Regions from separate parts of the Homo sapiens genome. Here regions 1 and 2 are each linked to region 3. The links are contacts of gene promoters, found by promoter capture Hi-C in human tissues and cell types (Jung and others, 2019). All regions are on one chromosome and are shown on one strand. The core of a region is centred on a gene start or on the middle of the fragment in contact, and the rest is flanking DNA. Distances in the headings are between cores, read along the strand shown.

The links. Contacts are between HindIII fragments. The study calls those that stand out against the background at their distance.
Region 1: a contact is called between a fragment that was not itself captured here and the fragment with the promoter of GINS4 in region 3, in 1 of the 25 tissues and cell types used here (H1 embryonic stem cells).
Region 2: a fragment that was not itself captured here is called in contact with the fragment with the promoter of GINS4 in region 3 in 1 of the 25 tissues and cell types used here (mesenchymal stem cells).

What each region holds. Positions count from the first base shown.
Region 1 is chr8:41,258,105-41,261,692 of GRCh38, reverse strand. No RefSeq gene overlaps it. Among named protein-coding and RNA genes, the nearest start is that of MIR548AO, 11 kb to the left of the region's middle. RefSeq lists an enhancer at 2,697-2,756. The HindIII fragment of the contact is 5,420 bases long and covers 1-3,588 here.
Region 2 is chr8:41,221,879-41,225,369 of GRCh38, reverse strand. No RefSeq gene overlaps it. Among named protein-coding and RNA genes, the nearest start is that of MIR548AO, 48 kb to the left of the region's middle. The HindIII fragment of the contact is 4,202 bases long and covers 1-3,491 here.
Region 3 is chr8:41,527,543-41,531,386 of GRCh38, reverse strand. GINS4 (GINS complex subunit 4) reads right to left here and starts at 2,126. Exons shown (of 8, transcript NM_032336.3): 1 at 1,991-2,126; 2 at 1,089-1,203. The coding sequence starts at 1,184. RefSeq lists a silencer at 2,151-2,580. The HindIII fragment of the contact is 17,762 bases long and covers 1-3,844 here.

The DNA of each region.
Region 1 (3,588 bases), core at 761-3,260, 270 kb after region 3:
TCAGAGAGAAGGTTAAATGCTTGCTCTACAAGAATGTAGCTTTCGGCCCTGCCTGAATTTCTTTTCCATGTTTCTCATGGAAACATTCTCTTTCCCCTCCGGCTCAACTCAATGTTAGAATTACCAACTAGAATTGGAAAACTTGTCCTTATCTGGAGTCTTAGACACATAGGAGGCCTTGGAGAGGAACATATCCACTCTTTTAACGTAAGATGGGGATATAGCTGGGATTTCCCAACTAGTCTGGGACTCCCAGGTCACTCGCCTGGTTGGAATTAGAACCCAGGGCTCCTGCATCCCACTTGCGTAGGCGTGATGTCTGCGCTCCCTGCCGAGCTTCCCTTTGGACTCAGAGTGCTGCACCATACCCAGCCCAAGCTGTTTCATATTAGGTTATGTGCTTCTTGCCTCAGGAATTCTTCCATGTGACTTCTAATTCTGCAAGCAATTACAGTGACAACTTCAGTGGATGTAGTTCCCTGATCAGTAAGTCACCTCCAAACCGCAGACAACTGTCAGTTTTACCCAGAAGTGATAAAATATTCCCAGGTTACCCAAATCCACGCCCAAGCACAGAGACACAACTTTTTTTTTAAGGTGTGGTATGAGGACTTGTAAACATTCTATCAAAGTCATGCTGTAGTCCAGAAAGATTCTCACATGCTAATGTACCTGACTGGTAAAATAGTGAGATACTAGTCCAGCCAAGGAAAATGTCCATATTTCCTTTTAGCTCCCTGTGGTTAATAAGAAAGAAAATTTATTTAGGCTGGGTGGAGATGTCATTGCCACCCCCTACTGAAGCTCACCACCATGACCCACCATTTCCATTTTTTTTAAGTCTGCAAAAGGATGATGAAGTGTGTGCAAAGGTATCTCAGTTCCAGCTGCTGGAGTCACCGTGGTGGAGTTTGGGGTGCCCAAGGGTCAGGACTGCTTGACGCTTGTGCCTCAGAGATGCTGGCAGCACTTGGAACCACAGGCTTGTCCTCAAGCTGCATGGCACCTGCACCTCCTTAATGAAAAATTTCGGCACTTCCCTAGGCAGGAGGTATAAAAGACCAAGGGACACAGAGGTAGGCTGGTCTTAACTTCAAAGGCTGTCTCCCCTCCTTGGGTCCAGAAGTGCTAGCAATTCACTTTTGCTCCTGAGGGTGGGACATGGTACTAATCATCCAATAGCAATTGAAGGGCAGAGGGAGAATCGTTCTTAAATTTCAGCCTATGTGAGTATCACCAAGGGGAGCTTACTAATATGTGGGTCTTGGCTCCCACCCCCAGACATTCTGATTGGGAAAGTTTGGGAAGGTTGGCAAAGGGGCTCTAGAACCAAGGTGCTAGGTTTCTCTGATGCCAGCAGTTCACGGGATCTTACTTTGCAAAACATTCTCATAGGACCTGCGTGGCCCGGGGATGAGAGGCAGGAAGTTATTTTGTCATCTCCCTCTCCCCACATCCACACTTCATATTGCCGCAGTCCCTTCTGAAGCTCTGTGAGTTCATCTTACCCGGCATCAGCTAATAGAGGCAAGTTAAATGCAAGGGGGAACGAGCCCTCTTTCCTTAAGACTGAGTACATTTGGCTGTCCAAGGAGTGTTTCTCACATTTTAATATGTATATGACTCACTTGAGGACCAGTGTTAAAATGCCGATTCTGAAGGGTAGGTCTGAGGTGGGCTTGAATTCTGCATTTCTTTTCTTTTTTTTCCTCATATTTTTCCAGTTTTATTTGTATAAAGACATACATGGCCTATCCAATGGAGCTTTGTCAAATAATCCATAAGTACCTAAAGCACACATGACTCGTAATGCTTTTAATATCAAAAGAGGTTATTTTTCTTAATCCAAAGATTATATAATTTTTTTTGCAAACTACTAGTGGGCCATATTAACATTTGAATAATCTTTTAAAAATTTAAATATAAATTTTGGATTTGGGGGCACATGTGCAGCTTTGTTACAAGGGTATATTGTATGATGCTGAGGTTTGGGCTTCTATTGACTCTATTACTCAGATAGTGAACATAGTACCCAATAGGAAATTTCCCAATTCTTGCCCCCACCCCTTCCTCCTTTTGGAGTCCCCAGAATTGATTCTGTCTATCTTGATGTCCATGTGGACCCATTGTTTAGCTCCCACTTATTAGTAAGAACATGTGGCATTTGGATGTGACTGCAAAGCACAGGATTTTGTTATTTTTTATGGCTGCGTAGTATTCCATAGTGTATGTGTACCACGTTTCCTTGGGTACCCGGGTGAGGCTGAAGCTGTGAAGCTGTCAGTGTGCAGAATGTACTTTGGGTAGGGAAGCTCTAACAGGCTGATGGTTTCAGGTGCGTCCTCACCCCCTGTTACAGTATCACCATCTCTATGATCAGCACAGCCCATCTCCTAAGGACTCAAAATATTGACCACGCTTTGGAATGGGAAGAAAATCAAACCAGAGAGTCATGCTTATAAACCCAAAGCTGGGGCTGATCTTCTCAACCCACTCATTAGATTTCATTCTTGTCCTAGACCTTAGGGTTAATTCTTTTCCCTCAGACCCTGCTCATTATGGAAACTCACAGGTTCCTTCCTATTTTTCCCATCTATTAACATTATGGACTGTGCCCTTTACCAAACTTCCCAGTCCTCAGCCCCCATCCCCAGACCCACCAGGGGTTGATGGTGTTAACCAACTGGTGGTATGTACCTGGACAACTAAAGTTACATAGGAATCTGACAACAAAATTGGGACTTTCCCTGTTCCATTTGCTCATGTCTGGGCAGTTTCAACCTCAGGTTATGGGAGGAGCCAAGAAAGAGAGGGGAAATTGAAGTCTTTGGAGGGAAAATCCCACCCCTGATACATTGAGGACAGCCTGTCCCCTGAGCTGACTTACTAGGGGAGCAGGCAGTAGGGATTGCTGTCAGCAAGGTCTAAGGGAGGCCACTTGTTGTAGGTTTGGAGAAGATGGGCACCAGAACAAGCTCCGAATAGGAGCAGAAAGCGCCTGCATCTTCATGCATCTGCAGACTATTTAGATAAGAAGGGGCTGTACCCAATCATGGAGAGTTGTTTGCTTAAATAAAGGAAGGGAAAGCTGCATGTGTGTGTGCTTAAGGGGAGAAGGAGGGGGTGGGAAGAAGGAGAAAGGGGCCAGGAATTTTCCACAGCTGAAACCCACCACGTGGTTATCATTAGGATGACCTTCCTATCACCTGAGCAAAAGGACTGGTGGATGGGGGCTGGTGAGGAAGGATTTGGGATCCGATCCCTCGGATTTCAGCTAAGTTCTGATGTGGCAGTTGCAAGCACTAAGGAGAAGTTCTTATTTCCCGCTTCCCTGGAGTGCCTGAGTCCACAGTCCTAAAGCTGTGTACCCTCAGGAAGCCTGCCCATTGGCTGGCCAGGTAGGATCCAGGGATCCAGCTTCTCTGAGATCCCCGGGTGTCAGGGCTTAAATATAAATAAAGCAATCAGAACCCACAGTTTGTTGGCATGGATGCAGTGAAAAGGGAATGCTTATACACTGTTGATGGGAATGAAAGTTAGTATAACCTCTACGGAAAACAATATGGAGATTTCTCAAATAACTAAGAA
Region 2 (3,491 bases), core at 175-2,674, 310 kb after region 3:
GAGCAAGGCTCCATGAGCATGGGACCTGCCGAGCCAGGCACGGGAGAGAATTGCCTTGTCTGCCCATTGCTAAGACCTTGGGAAAAGCACAGTATTTGGGCAGGAGTGCCCCGTTTTTCCAGGTAGTCTGTCATGGCTTCCATCGGCTATGAAAGGGAAATCCCCTGACCCCTTGTGCTTCCCAGGTGAGGTGATTCCCCGCCCTGCTTCAGCTTGCCCTCCGTGGGCTGCACCCACTGTCCAAACAGTCCCAGTGAGATGAACCAGGTACGTCAGTTGGAAATGCAGAAATCACCCATCTTCTGCATCGATCACGCTGGGAGCTGCAGACTGGAGCTGTTCCTATTTGGCCATCTTGGAAGCCCAGAGTTTCTTTCCTTTAAGTTTTCATTCCTCTCTCACCCTGGGAAGAGACCATTTCTAGGCATCTCAGGGGACATGACGTCTAGCTGGGGATCTCCCAATACCTGCAGGTCACAGGGCCACAGAGGCTGGGTCTCCAGGAGCAGAGGACATAGACCAGGGAAGATGAGCTCTTCAAACTTCTAAGTGTATTTATACCTCCAATTTTTCTACAACAGTATAAATTACTTTTAATGGAGAAGTATTTACTTGTATAATCAAAGAACTAAACTTTTTCTTTTCTTTTTTTTTTTTTGAGAAGGAGTCTTGCCCTGTCCCCCAGGCTGGAGTGCAGTAGGGCAATCTTGGCTCAGTTCAACCTCTGCCTCCCAGGTTCAAGTAATTCTCCTGCCTCAGCCTCCTAAGTAGCTGGGATTATGGGCGCCTGCCACCATGCCTGGCTAATTTTTGTATTTTCAGTAGAGATGCGGTTTCACCATGTTGGCCAGGTTGGTCTTGAACTCCTGACCTCAAGTGATCCACCTACCTCAGCCTCCCCAAAGTGCTGGGATTACAGGCAGAAGCCATTGTGCCTGGCCTTTGTGTGTGTGTGTGTGTGTGTGTGTGTGTGTGTTTGTGTGTGTCAGATTTGAAAACACAAGCCTGACTAGGAGCTCCTTGAAAGACCCTTGCTTGGTGGGGGCAGCAGCATTTTTCTCCCCTGGTGAGCATGGCTGGGTGCAACTATATGCATCGTTAACATCTTCAATCATCTAGCCAGAGGGAGTTCCCTGGGGATGTGTCTCATCCACCCTAGACCTGGAAGCTCCACATGCTGGCAGTCCTGAGCAGAAAGCTGCAGCTTCCCTGTACTTGGGTCGTTTCTTCCTCCAAGACAGGCATTGGCCGTAGACTGGAACAGAACATATGTGTGGATTTGTGTAAGCCTGTTCCCACCAGGAGCTAACTAGCTCACAATGCATGCCTCCCTGTGGTTGGTCAGGAATGGGAACCACGTCTTTCACACAAGGAGAGAAAGACTAGCCCCATGACATCGTAGGCTTGTAACATACCCGACTTTGCCCGACTGCATGCTTTTTCGAGTTCGCCTGTCTCTTGTGCCAGCCTCAGAGGTGGCGACCAGCTCTGCACAGACTCCCACTGACTCCAGCAGTCAGCCTGGCCGTGCCCCGCCTCAGGCTCACTTGGGCTCCTCTTATCTTCTGCCCTGGGGCTTCCTGGGGACCCTACTCAGCGCTCATACCCAGGCATCCTCCTGCCCCAGACTCACAGTCATTAGTCACACCTTAAGAAGCTTCTAGGCGGACAGTCTGACCAGGTCAAGAAGATGCATTTAGTGATAACCAGCTTGGGGCGGATCCCACCCTCCCTTCCTCCCTCTTGGCTCTCTGGAGAATCCAGGCTAAGGATATGCATTGTTGGAGAAATTACTTAACTTTTCCTAATTTCATCATCTTGAAAATAGGGAGGATATAACTTGATATAACTTGTAGGGTGGTTGGATGAGTCAATGAGTCAATAGATTCAAGATGGTGGAACAGTGCTTGGTCTGTGGTAGATGTTCAGTAAGTGTGAGCCTCGCTCTGTCACCCAGGCTGGAGTGCAGTGGTACAGTCATAGCTCACTGCAACCTTCTACTCCTGGGCTCTAGTGATCCTCTCGCCTTGGTCTCCCAAAGTGTTGGGATTATAGGCATGCACCATCATGCCCGGCCTTCCCTTATCTTTACAACAACTTTACATGATTGACATGGCCTATTGTTCCCTGTTTATTATCCAAGAAACGGTCCTGAGGGAAATTAAACAATTCCTTAAAATCACGGAGGCAGTCCCAGGTAGGCCCACGATGACACCCAGAGCCCTGTGGTATGAATGCCGGCACCACCCTATTTCTTGCACTCAAACCTAATCCAAGACCCTGCTCCTGCCTCCTGGCTCTGCTGCTTGTCAATGACTTTGGGGAACAATTTCAGCATTTTAGCTTCAGGTTTTTATTTGTAAAATGAGAAAAATATCTGACTTATTTCCCATGGTTGTCATTCTCTAGGTCAAGTTAAGTTAAAAATATTAACAAGAAAGTATTTGTAAATTGTTAGTCATAAACTTGAAGCTTAAAGGCTGCTTTGATGGAGAGACCTTAGAATGTCACTAGTTGAACATAATGAGGGGCTATTTCTCATTCATATCAAGTCCTGGTCTGCGCTCACTCTGTATGGGTGTTTGGGGACACAGGCTGAAGGATGGGGGCTCTGGGCATGTGGTTTCCAAGGTTGCTGTGGATTCCAACATCCTGCCAGGATATAGAAGAGAGTTTGGAAAAGATGCATCTGTTTTTTGTCCCTTTTGGTCTGGAAGTGCTCCAATTACTCCTGCTCATCATTCCATTGCTGAGAACAAATCACAGGGGGGTCTGGGAAGTGTAGTCTCTGGCTGGGCAGCAGCTAGTCCACAGAGGGGAAGGGGCACGCAGACCTCAGTGGACATCCGCATCTTTGCCAAGGACACCCTATGCCTCAGCGTTCTTCTTTTACAAGATGCAAACTAAGCCAAGAATGGTGACACTGTAGACTCAGAATTACAAACTTAATTAACAACAGAGTAAAATCAGGCATGGAAGTCTCTTGCTTCATGCCGATGCCCCCATTGTTATCATCATCTTTGTCATTATTCCCAGGAGGTGAGCCATGGGATAAACTCTTTTTTGTTCACTTCCCACTATAGAGTCCTGACCAGCTGAGGCTGGGGTGACTGTCTTCTGTAGGTTTTCTGTAACGTTGCCCAAACTTTGCTGATGACACCAACTGGACAGAGGATGGCAGGACCTATCCCTGATGTCACTTAACCCAAAGCTTTCTAGGGCAGCTCTCTTCTCTGTTGAGTTGTGTGCAGTTCTTCATTCGCGTTGTTTCAGGAAGGATCAGACTCAGAATGCCACACGACGTCCCCTAGTACCCATGAAGGCGAGTCCATGTGCTCCCCACCTCTCCACCTATTCTTTCCCCTCTTCCTTGCATCCCTGGCTCTGCTGAAGACTGGGTTGCAATCCCATTGGTAGCATTGCTGGAACGGTTTGTCATGGCTCTCCCATCTGCAGACTGCAACCCCCTCCCCACTTCCCACAGGCTTTTC
Region 3 (3,844 bases), core at 877-3,376:
TTATCATGTGTCAGATAGCATGCTGAGTGCTTTACACAATTACCACATTTAATCAAAAACTCCAGGACATAGACACTATTATCATCTCAATTTTATTTTATTATTTTTTTGAGACGGAGTTTCACTCTTGTTGCCCAGGCTGGAGTGCAATGGTGGGTAGGATCTTGGCTCACCACAACCTCTGCCTCCCAGGTTCAGGTGATCCTCCGGCCTTAGCCTCCCGAGTAGCTGGGATTACAGGCATGCGCCACCACATCCGGCTAATTTTTGTTTTTTAGTAGAGACGGGATTTTACCATGTTGGTAAGGCTGGTCTCGAACTCCTGGACCTCAGGTGATCCGCCCACCTCAGCCTCCCAAAGTGCTGGCATTACAGGCTTGAGCCACCGTGCCCGGCCCTATTGTCTCAATTTTATAGGCAAGCAACGGCTTGAGACAAACTCCCTAACTTGCTCAAGATCACATAACAGAGGAGTGTCACAGACAGATTTAAATCCAGATAGTCTGAACTCCTGTTACCAGAGCATCATGAGATATAAGTGTAAAGAACACAGTTACTGGCACATGGGAAATATGCAGTAAGTCATAGCTATTACAACTTAAAGGAGAAATATTTCAGAAAGGATTTTAGATAAGCAGTGGACATATGGAGAGCAGACGACTCAAGAAAAAACATGTGAGAAAAAGGAAAAATATGACCAGTTTTCCCTTACAGGCATTTCAGCATTTTCTTGCTAAACAGGCATTCTCCAGGGAAACAGCAGATGTTCAAGGGACTAAGGTAAAGAAGTTCAGGGACCTCTACAGTCCCTGAAAATATCACGTGGATCCTTGCTCTGTGAACTGTTCACTGAATGTGCCCAAAGCTGTCCCTTACTGACCCCACTTGGGGATGCTGTGTTTGATATGATGAGGTCTCTAACAGAGGATGTCCTTCTTGCTTCCCGTTTCCATGTAGATGGTAAGATCCAGTCCCTGTTCTAAAGTAAGCCCCAAATTCCGTTTCCTCATCTTGTGATCCCTGATATTCACAGTTGAACTAAATAAAAAGGCTGACTGGAGCAAAGGGATTCGATCTGGGATGCTTACCTGCTCCAATCTTTCAATGAGCTCTGCAGGAGTTAGGACCACTTCCTCACTACCCCCATCAGAGTCCTGTCCCAGGAAATCCACTTCTTCGGTCATCTTCTCTGAAACCAGGAACCTAATGAGAGGGAAAGAACCAATACTCTGCAATGCGTTTTCTAATTATCTGCAAGAACAGACATCTATCTGGAGAAAGGAAAGGTTTATTGAGGTTTCCTGGGGTTGTAGAGGCCCTTTAGCAAGTGGTGAGAGAACGCAGGGACTCTAGTTTTCCAGTGTCTGCCTCTTCCTCCAAGGCTTAGGTCAGGTATCCGTTTCTCAAACAAGCCTCCCCCTTACTTCTGTCCACCAAGAGCTGAGCACCCATCACACCATACAATCACTATTCATTTCTTTGACTTCCCAGTAGAGGTCTTGTTCCTCAGGGACGGGGTTCGTTTTAGTTCAAATACGAATCGCGCCTCTGCTCAGTGCCTGGCACTAAGCACTGGGGACGCAATGACGTGGGAAGCCCCTGCGCTCAGCACAGCGCTTGACTCCTAGCAAGCACTTAACATTATTAGGAGCTGGCCGGGCTCACGCCTGTAATCCCAGCACTTTGGGAAGCCGAGGCAGGAAGATACCTTGAGCCCAGGAGTTCGAGACCAGCCTGGGCAACATAGGGAGATCCTGTCTCTATAAAAACAAAAATTGTTAGGAAGATTAATCAATGCTAATTTCCCAGAGCCACAAGGGCCGGCGACATTAGACCAGTCGGCGATCCCAAAGGCCTAAGGAGGTGGATGGCGGGGACAAAGAAAGTCCCTGGGGTCGCAAGGAAACTGCGAACATCCCCCTCCCCTCCTCCCTCTCAGTGCCACCCACACAGGCCTGCCCTAGCCACAGAGGTCCCATTCGACGCTCACTCGGGGACCTGGGAGACAGCGAGGCACTCCACAGCAGCCGGCGGTAAGGACGGGGCGTTCGTGGGGACGCAGTCGGGGCACCAGGAAGCGGGAAGACAGAGGAACAAACTGCTCAAGGACTTGCCGGGACCAACTCAACCCTGCAACTTCTCAGCTCCCGCGCTACTCTCGCAAAGTTTCCGCCCAGGCACGACGTCATCGCGCAAGGGCGACGCTGACCAATCAAGGCCCGGGGGGAAGAGCGGGGCGGTCTCCTTGGGCCCGCCCACCCGGCGGGCGGGGACTGTCTTCGCGGCGGCCTGCAGTCCCAGCAACCCAAGGACTTGAGGCGGCGGGAGGCTGGTCCGGGTTGGCCCCGCCCACCTGGGGGCCGGCCGCTCCGCTGTGCGGTCCGGGTTGCACTACCCAAGAGCGTCGGGAGGGGGCGCCCGCCACCGCGGCCAAGGGGAGCGGCGGTGTCCGCCCCGGGGGGTCCCACCCAGAAGTATGCTGTTGAAAGCAGGCCGCTGCAGCCTCCTGGGCCGTCTCCACCCACAGCTCTCGTGGCTCTTTGGGTTCCTCCGTCTTTGCGGGGTTTCACCTGTGGTCAGTGTGGTCATTGCCTTCAGAATCTCCAGTATATTCCTTTTCATCTTTCTTGAGACAGGGTCTCGTTCTGGTGCCCAGGCTGGAGTGCAGTGGCACCACCACAGCTCACTGCAACCTCCGCCTCCCGGGCTCCAGCGATCCTCCCACCTCAGCCTCCGGAGTAGCTGGGACCACAGGCCAGCGCCACCACGCCCAGTTATTTTTTAATTAAAAAAAAAAAAAAAAAGAACTGTGGCGGGGTTGGGGGTGGGGAGGTTCTCCCTATGATGGCCAGGCTGGTCTCGAACTCAAGGATCCAAGCAATCCTCCCACCTCGGCCTCACAAAGTGGGTACTGGTTCTTGAAGCCTGGGATCGGACGACCAGCAGAAGCATCGCCTGGGAATCCGTGAAAATGCAGGTTCTCAGGCCCCACCCTGGCCCACCGAATCAGAAACTGGGGGTATTTCACCAGACCCAGGCCCTCCCGGTGACCCTGACACAGCTGAGGTTTGAGAATCACTGCTTTGGGGCCGGGCGCGGTGGCTCACGCCTGTAATCCCAGCACTTTGGGAGGCCGAGGTGGGCGGATCACGAGGTCAGGAGATCGAGACCATCCTGGCTAACATGGTGAAACCCCGTCTCTACTAAAAATACAAAAAAATTAGCCGGGCGTGGTGGCGGGCGCCTGTAGTCCCAGCTACTCGGGAGGCTGAGGCGGGAGAATGGCGTGAACCCGGGAGGCGGAGCCTGCAGTGAGCCAAGATGGCGTCACTGCACTCCAGCCTGGGAGACAGAGCCAGACTCCATCTCAAAAAAAAGAAAAAAAAAGAAAAAAGAAAAGAGAATCACTGCTTTGGGGCAATGCTTTCAACTCACCTTCTGGAGGGGAAAAGCACAAAAACCCATGTCTGTATATGTATATATTTTTTCCATCTTTGTGTGATCCAGTTTTTCTTCTCTGAGTTGCTGATTCTTTTCTCTTTGCTGTCCTTTGTTTTCTGTGCAAAGCGTTGCTTCTGGCTTCCCTAAAAGTATCTCTTCTCCATCAATCTGAGGGCTCTTTGCAAAGCTGCCCTATGATGTCATATTGATTGACTAGTAAAATGATTGGCTAATATAGTATGATCGTACCTGCCTGATTACAATCCTGTTATGAAAATGACAATAGAATAAGCCGAGTGAGAGAGTAGGCATCTTTACAAAGCGCTGTGTAAGCTGGGGCATATCAGCACGGGATTCCCAAAAGGAAGGGACATTTGAGCTGTGTCTTATGAAATGAATTTTG